Regions from separate parts of the Homo sapiens genome. Here regions 1 and 3 are each linked to region 2. The links are contacts of gene promoters, found by promoter capture Hi-C in blood cells and fetal thymus (Javierre and others, 2016). All regions are on one chromosome and are shown on one strand. Each heading gives the region's core, a stretch centred on a gene start or on the middle of the fragment in contact. The rest is flanking DNA. Distances are from core to core; before and after follow the strand shown.

Region 1 (3,949 bases), core at 1,305-3,804, 2.1 Mb after region 2:
ATCCACCTGGGTTGCTCTTTCACTTCCTTCGGTCTCTGCTTAAACATCAGCTTATGAGAATGACCTTCTCTTATCATCCTATAGGAAAAACCTCCTCCCCAACCCTTACACTCTGAATTATTTTTCTCTATAGCCCTTACCACTCCCCAGCTAGCATGTTATAAGCTCCAGGACCACAGGGACTTTTATTTATTGTTATATTCCAGCAGGACCACAATGTCTGGCACTCAAATTTCTGCTGAATGAATGAAGCTGAAATGTCACTTTTACCAAAACAAAATTCCTACTAAGCATACTGAACAGGAGAAAAAGATTTTACTCCCCAGACTTCAAGTGTTAAATGGAGTAGTCATACAGGCAAAGAAAAGGTGGGAGGATTACGGAGGGGGAGGAGAAGCAGCATGCCTCTTTAAACAAAAGGGTCTATCGGTTTAAGTTATCAATGCCAGGTACGTCACCAAGTACATCTTAACAGACTCGTTCTGTATCCTAGACATACTGAACCCCAATTTTCAATTCAACTGCATTAAAAACTCACTTCACCTAAGCAAGACCAGGAAGAGACCTTCCAACTGCCGAGAACCTTCTTAAGTCCATAGGCATTCAGTTACGCCAGAGCATTAAAGTAAGTCTGGTACGCCTTTATACTGAATCTACCTGAACATAACAGCAATCTTTTTTAAAAAGGAGTCTGTGGAATATCTCTTAAAAGAAACACAAGAAGCCAGTTAGCCCGTGGGTAGCTGGTGGACAGGAAGGACGAGATAATTTTTTTTTTTTTTTGAGATGGAGTCTTGCTCTGTCACCCACGCTGGAGAGCAGTGGCGCAGTCTCGGCTCACTGCAACCTCCGCCCCCCGGGTTCAAGCAATTCTCCTGCCTCAGCCTCCTGAGTAGCTGGGACTACAGGAACTCTCCGCCACGGCCGGCTAATTTTTGTATTTTTAGTAGGGGCGGCATTTCGCCATGTTGGTCAGGCTCGTCTCGATCTCCTTACCTCAGGTGATCCGCCCGCCTCGGCCTCCCAAAGTGCTGGGATTACAAGCTTGAGCCGCCGCGCCCGGCCAAGAGAGAATTTTCTATATACTTTTTGTAACTTTTGAATATAGAACCATGTCAATATTCTAGTCAATGGTAAAGTAAATTAAAACTAGACCAAGAAGCTGGGTGTGATGGCTCACGCCTGTAATCCCAACACTTTGGGACACCGAGACGGGAGGATCGCTTGAGCCCAAGAGTTCGAGACCTGTCAGGGCAACACAACGAGACCCCCATCTCTACAACAATTTTTTTTTTAATTTAGCGGGACGTGGTGGCGCGGGAGTGTAGTTCCAGCTACTTGGGAGGCTGAAGCCGGAGATTCGCTTGAGCCCAGGAGGTCCAGGATGCAGTAGGTCGTGATCGCGCGGCTGCATCACAGCCTGGGCGACGGAGCGAGCCCCCACTCAAAAATTAAAAAATAAAAACGACGAGAGGCCAGACGTGGTGGCTCACTCCTGTAATCCCAACACTTTGGGTGGCCGAGGCAGGAGGATCGCTTGAGCTCAGGAGTTCAGACCAGCTTAGGTAACAGAGACCCATCGCAAAAAAAGAACAATAATAAACAACAAGGGAGCGAGAAGGCAAGAAAATGGTGCAAATTTACCCGGATGTCAACAGGGGGCGGGGCCAAGCGCTGCTACCGAAGATGCCAAGATGGACGCCAGGCAGCCAGGAGAAAGATCCCAACCCCACCCGCGCAGATATCCGCGAGGCCCCGCGCTCAGCCTCCTCACCCCCGCTATCCGCGGCCTCCGGGTCCTCCTCCGCCTTCCGCTTGAGCTTCTGGGAGGAGGGGCTCACCGGCGCGTCCCCCAGCAGGTACTTATGCTCCTGGCCCCGCAGGTGCTTGAGGTAGCGGTCCTTCAGGGACTGCCACGAGTGCTGCGTGAGCGAGCTCTTCTCCATCGCTTTCCACAAGGCGTTACCGGTGACGGAGCTGGGCGAGCGGGCATTTTCCTTCACGTAGGTAAGGATGGCTACGTCGTCCGCATCCGTGAAGGCGATCCGCCCGGCGTGCCGCTGCGGCTCCGGCTCCGCGGCGCCCTCGGCCAGGGCCCCGGGCTTTGCTTCCGAGCCGGTGTCCGCCGCCGAGGCGGGGCCCAGCCGATAGGCCTCCAGCTCCAGCCTCTCGTTGCGCTCCACGCAGTCCAGGATGTACTGCGTGGAGATGAAATCACCCGAGGCCTCGGCCAGCGCCTCCCCGGGCTGGGCCAGCAGCACGGCCCCGGGCTCCTGCACTCGGCACACGGTGCCGCCGCCGTGCAGGATGAGCGTCGACAGCCGACGCTTGGCCGGGCTGGGCCGCACGTAGAAGGACATGGAGCTGCCGTCGTCCCTCACGAACAGAGTCGAGGAATGGGTGGGCCCGTTGGGGTCTTTGCCCAAATCCATCGCCTCCGCCATGTCTGACGCCGAGCACTACTAGAAGAGCTACCCCCTCGCGAGCGCCTGGCACACAGAGCTCAACTGACTGAGCTGTCACCGCAGACGCCTCTGCCGCGAAGCGCAGCACTGGGCCTGCGCAGCAGCAGCCGCGGCGCATCGAGAGTGCCCGCCCCCTCTCCCCCGGAAGAGGTGGGGCTTCGCACCTTGACCTGGAAATTAACGTACTATCCTCCTTACTTTTGGGTCGGGCCCTCCGGGAAGATGGCGGCCGTGCAGGCGGCCGAGGTGAAAGTGGATGGCAGCGAGCCGAAACTGAGCAAGAAGTGAGTGTCGCTGCGAGTCTTTAAAGCCTTTGCGGTAGGAGAGTCTGGGCTGGGAAGCGCCGCGAGGTTCCCACCAAGGCTGCTGTGCCGGGGCCTTCTTGCCGGCTCTCGTGGGTACGCACATGCTGAGACGTGGTGGCTGCGCCCTGCAGACCACGTACCCCGGGATACCCCGGGCACGCCGGCTCCCCGTTCCCAGCTGGCACCGGCGGGATGCTCCCTATCATACTCCTAGAGTTAAGAGACTGTGGAGGAGGAACTAGGACGAGAACTAAGAGTTATCAGAAAAGAAAAGCGAAACTTCCTGCTTAGCTTCATCCTCCTTTCTGAGAAATGCATTCTTTTGTTGAGCCACTCAGTAAACGTGGAAGTTGGAGAAATGTTAAATACCCTAGCTTTTCAGAAAGACCTTCAAAATTTTCTGGGCCTCACTAAGGTCATTCTGAACGTTATGTATTAAAAGGGATCAGTTCTAAAACTGTCATGCATCTACCCGTATGGGTTATTCAGTAGATACCTGTGAGTATTAAGTGATCAACGTCTAACAGTAGAGACCATCTTAATTCAGCCTGATATCTTTGTTAACCACTCCCAAATCCCTGGAGTATGTAGGTTAACATAGATAAGTCAGGATTAGCCACCCTTTAACTGGCTGTCTTATATTCTCATTAGCGTTCCCCATTTGAACCACAGAACACAGGTAATTGAGTGTTTTATCATTGCTAGGAAGATGGTACATAGTACCATTCCAGAGGCATACGAGAGGGCTTAATCCCCGTGGCGCGCACTTGTTATCCCAGCTACTCGGGAGACTGAGGCAGGAGAATCGCTTTAACCCAGGAGGCGGAGGTTGCAGTGTGCTGAAGTCGTGCCACTGCACTCCAGCCTGGGAGACTTGAGGTAGTGGTCCTTCAGGGACTGCCAGAAGTGCTGCGTGAGCGAGCCCTTCTCCATCGCTTTCCCCAAGGAGTTACTGAGACGGAGCCAGACCCTGAATGAAAAAGAAAAGAGAAATGATGTTTCTTTTTTTTTTTTTTTAAGATGGAGTCTCGCTCTGTCGCCAGGCTGGAGTGCAGTGGCGCGATCTCAGCTCACTGCAACCTTCGCTGCCAGGGTTCAAGCGATTCTCCTGCCTCAGCCTCCCGAGTAGCTGGGATTACAGGCGTGTGCCACCATGGCTGGCCAATTTTTGTATTTTTA
Region 2 (4,156 bases), core at 1-2,500:
AAAAATTAGCCGGGCATCGTGGCACATGCCTGTAATCCCAGCTACTCAGAAGGTTGAGGCAGGAGAATCGCTTGAACCCAGGAGGCAGAGGCTGCAGTGAGCCGAGATTGCCTACTGCACTGTAGCCAGGGCGGCAGAGTGAGACTCTGTCTCAAAAAAAAAAAAAAAAAAGTGTATACAAATGACTTCTCTGAGTTTCATCTTCATTTGTGTCAGGCTTGAGGATATTTAAGAAGATTAAATGATGCAGTTCATATACTGTGGCTGGCACACAGCTGGTGCTCAGGGAATGGTAACCACTGTCATAAATCTCCCCATCATTAGATAAGCAGTTGTTTGCAGGAGGTATTTGCTATTTTTTGCCTCTTTCTAGGTGGCAGGGTGCTCACCAGATGTGGTTGGGTAACGGCAGTGTATTTCAAAGACCAAATGGCCTGAAAAAAATCAGTGAATGCTGGCACAGGGATTGCACAGTGCATCTGGATGCACGCAGGCCAGCCTCCAGAAAAGGAAACTGTGGGCTGGTGGCTTTTAACCACCCGGAAACCACAGAACTGACCAGACAAACCAGCCAAAGTAAAAGGCTGCAAAAACGTTATCTGTCCACTTTAGGGGCTGGCCGCTGGAATAATCACCAAGGTATCAACAGCAGTAGCAGCCACCCCGTTCTGAGCATGGTCTCAATTTTGACGTTTCTCATTTTATCCTCACAACAGCCCGGCAAGTGATCACAGGGTCACCTCCAGGCTCAGAGAGTTTACGAAACTGACAGACCCAAGGTCACAACTGAAAGTAGCCACCGGGGGACTTGAATCCGGGGCTGCCTGCTGCGGGTCTGTGCCACTGTCGGGGGTCCTGGGGTCCAACTCTGGAGACGCGGATTGCAGAACAGCCAAGCCGGCTGGGAAGGGGAGCAGCGTGTATGTAAACCATACTGGCTTAAGCCGGCTCTGTTCCTGGCCAGAGCAGTGCAAAGGTTCGGGGACCCTGCGGGTTGCTGGAGGCGAGTGCTCCCCCATCCGGCGCTCGCAGGTGGACTGGCGGGAGCTGCAAAATCAGTCCCGGCCAAAAGGCCCCGGTGGCCTCCGCTACGATCAAGGCCGGGCCTGACCAAGCTCGGGGTGCCAGGGCCCGGAAAGCCTTTACCTGACTGGCTCCTCGGGAAGACCAAGTCGTGACATTGCCCTGGGGAATGTTTGTTTCCGGGCGGACTCCTCGGAGCTGCTCGGTCGGTCGCGCTTGCGCAGAGCAGCTCTGGGCTTGGGAGCGGCCTAAAGCCAGAGAGAGGGGCGGGGCTTAGAGCACGAGGCGGGGTGGTGTCTGGGGCGGAGACAGGGGGCGGGGCGGTGCGAGATCTGGGATCGGAGGCCGGGATCGGGGCGGGGCGGGGCTTATAGCCAGAGGCGGGACTTGAGGTGGGGAGAGGCGCGGGGCGGGACTTAGGGCCGGGTGTTCCTGGTTGCTCAAAGCAGTTTCTGCCGGGCTCCTTGGGCTTCTATGGAAGCAAGAGGTATAGGAGGAGTTGTGGAATTTAGAGCTGGAAGAGTTAAAAAAAAAAAAAATACAGTGTTGGTGAGGTGATAATATTTTACACTCGCATTCGCTGTTGCTGGAAGGTTAAGGTGATTCATTCAACTTTTTGGAACTGCTGTCAGCACCTGTTCACCGACCACCTGTATGCACTGGGTGCAGATCCCACAGCTAGCGAAAAGACACGTGGAGCTCACAGTCAAATGGTAGAAACATAAATTAATCACACAGGGCTGGATGCAGTGGCATATGCTTGTAATTCCAACACTTTGGGAGGCCAAGAGGGGAGGATCACTTGAATCCAGGAGTTCGAGCCCAGCCTGGGCAACATGGCGAAACCCCATCTCTACAAAATAAAAATAAAAAATTAGCCAGGCGTGGTGGCACACACCTGTGGTCCCAGCTACTCAAGAGGCTGAGGTGGGAGGATCGCTTGAGCCCAGGAGGTCGAAGCTGCAGTGAGCCGTGATAGCACCACTGCACTCCAGCCTGACAGAGGTAGACCGTCTCAAAAATAAGAAGAAGAAGATAAGAAGTTTTTAATGCAAAAAAAAAAAAAAAAAAAAATCACACTGATAAAGCAGTGGCCTTTGGTCCTTCTAGAGCGTGTGAAGGAGAAATGTGACCCAATTAGGAGACAGAAGAGGCTTGGTAGAGGAAATAGAAGTGCAGCTCATCTTGAAAGCAGTAGTTCTCAAAGTGTGGTCCTCAGACCAGCAGAATCAGGATCACTTTGGTCCTGTTAAAAATGTGGACTCTGGGCCAGGCGCTGTGGCTCACACCTGTAATCCCAGCACTTTGGGAGGCCAAGTCGGGTGGATCACCTAAGGTCAGGAGTTTGAGACCAGCTTGGCCAACATGGTGAAACCCCATCTCTACTAAAAAAACAAAAATTAGCCAGTGGCAGGCGCCTGTAATCTCAGCTACTAGGAGGCTGAGGCAGGAGAATCGCTTGAACCTGGGAGGCGGAGTTTGCAGTGGGCCGAGATCGCGCCATTGCACTCCAGCCTGGGCAAAAAAAAGCGAAACTCTGTCTCAAAAACAAAACAAAACAAAACAACAACAACAACAACAACAAAAACCAAGAAAGAAAGAAAGGAAAGAAAGAAAAGAGAAAAGAAAAGAAAAGAAAAAAGACGAAAAGAAAAGAAAAGAAAAGAAAAGGTGGACTTTGGGGCCCATGTCACAACTGCTGAATCAGAAGCCAGGTGTCAGGCCCAGTGATCTGTGCTGTAAGGGGATTCTGATGCTCTGTGCGGGATAGAGGACATAAATGAGGAAAAAGGCAAGGGAGAGTGTTCAAGGAAGAGGGCAAAGTTTGTGCAAAGACAGCAGAAAGGGGCTGGAGAACAGTGTGTGTGAGGGAGCCTGGTGCGAGCTGAGAATCCAGGGGTCAGTGTAGGGCTGACTTCTCCCTTACAGGCACAGGACACACACAGTAATTTTAGGGACCTGTGAAAATGTTTTAATTGTAATTTCTTTTTAAATTAGAAGAAGAAAAGGTATGTAATAAAAGCAATATATAATAATGAATCCAGCTTGGATGATAGTCATTTTATGAATTCAGTCATAAAATATTCACTTTAAAATTATTTTATGGAAGAAGGGGTGCACAAAAACAAAGTAGCTAGGGCCCATGAAAGTAATATTGTGGCTGGCCCTAGGTCAGTGGGGCAGTTTGTGAAATTATTAATGAAATGAAATATTAATGAAATATCGCTGTGATATTTACAACATCCAGTGTTTACACACCGTGACATCAATGAAATATCGATGTGATATTTATAATATCCAGTGTTTACACACTGTGATATTAATAAAATATGGCTGATATTTGTAATATACAATGTTTACACACCGTGATATTAATATAATATCGCTGTGATATTTATAATACCCAGTGTTTCCACACTGTGATATCAATGAAATGTCTCTGTGATATTTGTAATATCAAGTGTTGATGCACCATAACATCAATGAAATATCACAGATATTTACAACATCCAGTGTTTACACACCATGACCTCAATGAAATATCAATATGATATTTATAATATCCAGTGTGTACACACCGTGATATTAATAAAATATGGCTGTGATATTTGTAATATACAGTGTTTACACACCGTGATATTAAGCAAACATCGCTGTGATATTTATAGTATCCAGTGTTTACACATCGTGATATAAATGAAATATCGCTGTGATGTTTATAATATCCAAGGTTTACAAACTGTGATACCGATGAAACATCGCTGTGATATTTATAATACCCGATGTTTACACAAAGTGTTTACACACTATGATGTTAAATATCGTTGTGATTTTTATAATATCCCGTGTGAAATTAATGAAATATCACTGTGACACTCATAATATCCAGTGTTTACACAGTGCTTACACGCTGTTACGTTAATGAAATATCACTGTGATATTCATAATATCCAGTATTTACACACAGTGCTTACGCACTGTGACATTAACGAAATATCGCTGTGATATTCATAATATCCAGTGTTTCCACACAGTGCTTACACACTGCGATATTAATAAAATATCGCTATGATATTCATAATATCCAGTGTTTGCACACAGTGCTTACACACTGTGACATTAATGAAATATC
Region 3 (4,007 bases), core at 24-2,523, 2.8 Mb before region 2:
AAGGGAATACAACCATAAATAAGATAAAAATATCCCTTGCTTGCACGGTGCCTACAGTCTTGTGGGGGATATGGTTAATGAACAAACAGTTGCAAAACTGCACACAAAGTTTCCCAGTGGGAGAAGTTTAGGTTGCAAATGGTGCACGTAGAAGGTCATCCTAACCCAGCATGAGGTGATCCTAGAAGGAATCCTGGACTGGTGCTATCTAAGCTGAGATCCAAAGGAGGCTCGGACACTAGTTAGGTCAGTAGGTGTAGGGGTGGAACAGAGGGAAAAGCAGGTGCAAGAAAAGTCTGATGTTTCAAAAAACTAAAGTTACTGCAGTTTGATGTGACTTCAGCTATGACTTTAGCATACAGATTGGGGAAAAAACTTCTCTAGGCAAAACCTAGTATTATTTTGGTAAACTGTGCTCAAGTGCCTTACCTGAAATTCAGAGCATGCGCATGAATGGACCTGCCGCCTTTCCTTTACTAGTGTGCTCAGGTAGGAACCCCAGCTTCATATATGGAGGCCAGAAAGTACAGGTTAAGGCAGACTTCTGCATTTGCTGCACTGACTGGCAAAATACTGACTCAGCACCCCCGCCTCACTGAGGCAGACAGCGCCCTCAAGTGGAAATGAAGATGAGCGGTACTTTGTGCCTCATTAGCCCCAATTTGTATATGCAGTAAATGTGCTGTTTTGTTTTGTTATGTTTTGTTTTTGTTTTTGTTTTTGCCATTCCCCTGTGAAGCTGCAGTCAGCTGATGGTCAGCAAAGTCTGCTGAAATTCTGAAACCAAATAATATAAGGAGTGTTTTCATTTCTATGAAGAGCTGATTTGTTTTATTATCTAAATTTTAATCCAAGGAAGTTTTCAGGTTGAGAGGTTGAGAAAAATTATAAAAGATAACAGAAGAAAGGATGGGAAATAATAAAAAAGAAAAATGTTTTGTCATTTCTCTTTCAATTCCATCTCCAGAACATTAGTTCAGCTTTGGCTAGTGGAAGGGAACTAGTAAGTGGATCTTCTGATATAAACAATGTTAACAATGGAAAGTTAATTTCTTCTCAACATCTCTAACTACACTTTGGGCAGTAGCTCAGGAACATAACTCTGAAGTGCTATCAAATGTGCAGTCGGCCTGGGCACTCATGTGTTTGGGATCAAGACAGAATAAGGAGGTGTGTGTTAGAGAGAGGATGCCTGTGTCTCACGTTGTAATGTCCCAAGACCTGGGCTGCTCCCGTAGTTGCCCAGTTTCATCTCCTATGCCAGGGGGAAAATTGACATCTTTTGCCAAACTACATTGTGATTTTGAGGTTATTCAATTTCATTTAGCTATTTTGTAAATATTTCAAGATTTAAGAATATGCTGAATAGAATTAAAATGCTTTCGGTGACAGAAGGTGCTGAAATGGAGTAGCTACTGCTCTTTGTCTCTAAGTAAGAAGGCAAGTTTGGGGAAATGACCTGTGTTACTCCTCACAGGCCTCTAGGTGGTGCTGCTGTGACAGCTATTGGCTTTACCGTTTCTTTTTAGCGCTTAACTATCAAACCAAATATTTAACTTATTAAATCTCTTACACTTATGGTTAATTGCTAATATAATACTATTGATAATTTATACCATCACATTTACATTAGATTCTCCTAATAATGAGCCTATATTCATAAATTGCACAACAGAGTAATTTTAAGGGTTGGAATAAATGTAGGTCTCTGGTTATTAATTAATAAAGTCAAAAACTTTCACGTGTGGCTGAATTTTTCCACATACATTAAAACTAACTACATAATTAGCTTTTCCTTACCTCTACTTGCATTGGGTAAAATAGTACTTCGTACACAGTAGGAGCCAAATTAATGTTTATTAAAGGACTTAATTCTTTTTTGAGTTTCCCTTTCTACTATTCATTGAGGATGAGATAACTACTGGATTAAGTTTTTTAAAACGCTGGTCAGACATTGCTGCTTATCTCGGCTAATAACAACAACGGGAGGCCATTTTTTCTTTATTTCTGAAAATGGCCTGAAGAATATCTATAAAATCACTTCTTTATTTTAAAAGCAAATTGGTTTTTGAGGTTGGTTCTATTGAAATGCAAGAATGGTATGAAAAAGAGCGTTTGATAATTGCTCAAATCTTAATCAAGATTTTATTAAAATCAATATTTGATGGGCTGCTCAATTTAATTAAATTAAACCACAGAGAAATGAGGAATAAATGAGCTTGAAAATCAATCACAGGATGAGGTATGTTTCTTTTTGTTAGTTTAATATATGAAATGTTGTGTTAAGCAATTGCTGACCATGGGAGAAGCAAACAAAATCACCACTTCGCTTTAGACAACATGAGCCCACATTTTGTGCCAGGCACTGTGCTAAACACAGTCTACATGTGCCTTAATTAATTTTGAAACAAAATCCCGTGAGGTCGGTCTCCTCAGTTTATGATTCAGGCCTAGGTGTGAGCCAGGATGGCTGTTCCAGGTCATTCCATTGATAAATGGCAGAGTTAGCTGTAAATATAATGACCAAGCCTTTCCTACTACCTCAAATTGTTCACAAACAGGAAGAAAAAGCGCAGTTAATGATTAAGTTTAGAGAAGGGCATTGGTGATAATTTTCTTCCTTAAAAAAGTGTAGCTTTATAGGTAAGTAATTAGAGGGGGCAGGGGACCCAAATTAAAAAGCGTGAGTGTTGACTTAGAAGCTCTGAGTCCCAAGATGGCAAAAAACAGGAGGGAGGTGGGAGGTGTTATTTTTCTGGATAGACATATAATATAGTTATTTGCCATATAATTTATGCTTATTGAGAGTGGCAGAGATTTATGGTGTTAGTAACAAAGTGTTTTAATTGGGATTAGCTAATGAAAAAGTGGCAGAACTGGCAAGGGAGAAGGTAGGAAAATGTGATTTGAGCTGAGGTGTTTCTTCTCATGGGATGCTAACAAAAGAGTTAGTGTTACGCACCGGGGCAAGAATCATACTTTTAATTAGGCTTTCAGAGTTTGTGCTTGCATTCTTGGTTCTAAGGAGTCTTAGTCACCCAAAGAATCAACTCTAGGAAAGTAACGATATTCTCGTTAAATATCACTGGCAATGAGAATGAAATTGCAGCTTCCTAAAAATAAAAAAACTCCCTCATTTTTATTCACTGCTTCTTTGGTGCGATGGAAATTAAAGATCAACAACAATCACACCCACACAATTGTGCAGCTTCCCTACACTCCAGGCTGAGAAGAATTTGTTTCTCAAGCCACTGCTTCCTAAACTTTAGTCATTCATGTTTCATGTTTATAATTTTTGCTATCTCCCTGCACCTCTTATATTACTTAAAATTTTTATTAAAAATGGCTCATTAAAAAATTAAAATTAAGTACATTTATTTTAGAAAAAATACGTAAGTGGGAAGCTAGAGTCACTTGCCCTAAGAAGGGTATTTGTGAAAAGAAACAATGAAATCAAAACAGTGTTATTGAATTTTAACTTCAGGGAAGTGTCCAGAGGTCGTAAAGACATACTTTCACCACACTGAGACTTCTTTGATCATAACTGAGCCATAAAAGAAAAGACTTGAAAAGGGAATAATTGTCTCATTATGTGAATCACTTTTTATCCAACAGTGTATCTATTTGCCATCTAAAATTACATTTTCTAATCAAAGCTTCATCCTCCAAACATATGTCTTTGTTTGCTGGTCATAGGAATCTCTCACCCCTCACCTTTTTAACTCTCCAACTTCCAACTTCTCCCAGTAGTATTTAAATCTCGCCTTCTACCCATCTAATTCCATTTACCTTATGTCTAAACATTTAGAGGATCCTGTTAAGCAAACACATTGGAGATGGAGGCCGATTACAAAATGAGCTTCTATTATTGGTTAATACAACTTTTCTTCATATATGCTGTTTGAGATCATGTTTTCTCTAATAAGATATGATACATTTCCAACTGTAATAAAAGTCTGTCTCTTTACTACTCCTGACCTTAATACACCCCCTTACCCTTCTTGAGG

Evidence for each region. The method cuts DNA at HindIII sites, captures the fragments that hold promoters and counts their contacts. A CHiCAGO score of 5 or more calls a contact.
Region 1: a contact is called between the fragment with the promoter of TERF2IP here and the fragment with the promoter of NUDT7 in region 2, in 1 of 17 cell types (M0 macrophages). The highest score is 5.5, in M0 macrophages.
Region 3: a contact is called between a fragment that was not itself captured here and the fragment with the promoter of NUDT7 in region 2, in 1 of 17 cell types (total CD4 T cells). The highest score is 7.9, in total CD4 T cells.

The regions. Positions count from the first base shown.
Region 1 is chr16:75,646,378-75,650,326 of GRCh38, reverse strand. TERF2IP (TERF2 interacting protein) reads right to left here and starts at 2,554. Exons shown (of 3, transcript NM_018975.4): 1 at 1,775-2,554. The coding sequence starts at 2,444. It overlaps KARS1 (lysyl-tRNA synthetase 1), which reads left to right and starts at 2,662. Exons shown (of 14, transcript NM_005548.3): 1 at 2,662-2,749. The coding sequence starts at 2,688. RefSeq lists enhancers at 19-98, 677-1,632, 1,430-1,699, 1,633-2,590, 2,630-2,809 and a silencer at 2,010-2,129. The HindIII fragment of the contact is 3,802 bases long and covers 1,047-3,949 here.
Region 2 is chr16:77,719,608-77,723,763 of GRCh38, reverse strand. NUDT7 (nudix hydrolase 7) reads right to left here and starts at 1,250. Exons shown (of 4, transcript NM_001105663.3): 1 at 1,147-1,250. The coding sequence starts at 1,181. RefSeq lists a silencer at 1,275-1,404 and an enhancer at 1,118-1,412. The HindIII fragment of the contact is 15,416 bases long and covers 1-4,156 here.
Region 3 is chr16:80,524,096-80,528,102 of GRCh38, reverse strand. The region is part of intron 2 of DYNLRB2-AS1 (DYNLRB2 antisense RNA 1); the gene reads left to right. Among named protein-coding and RNA genes, the nearest start is that of DYNLRB2, 15 kb to the left of the region's middle. RefSeq lists silencers at 531-620, 651-700. The HindIII fragment of the contact is 4,771 bases long and covers 1-3,658 here.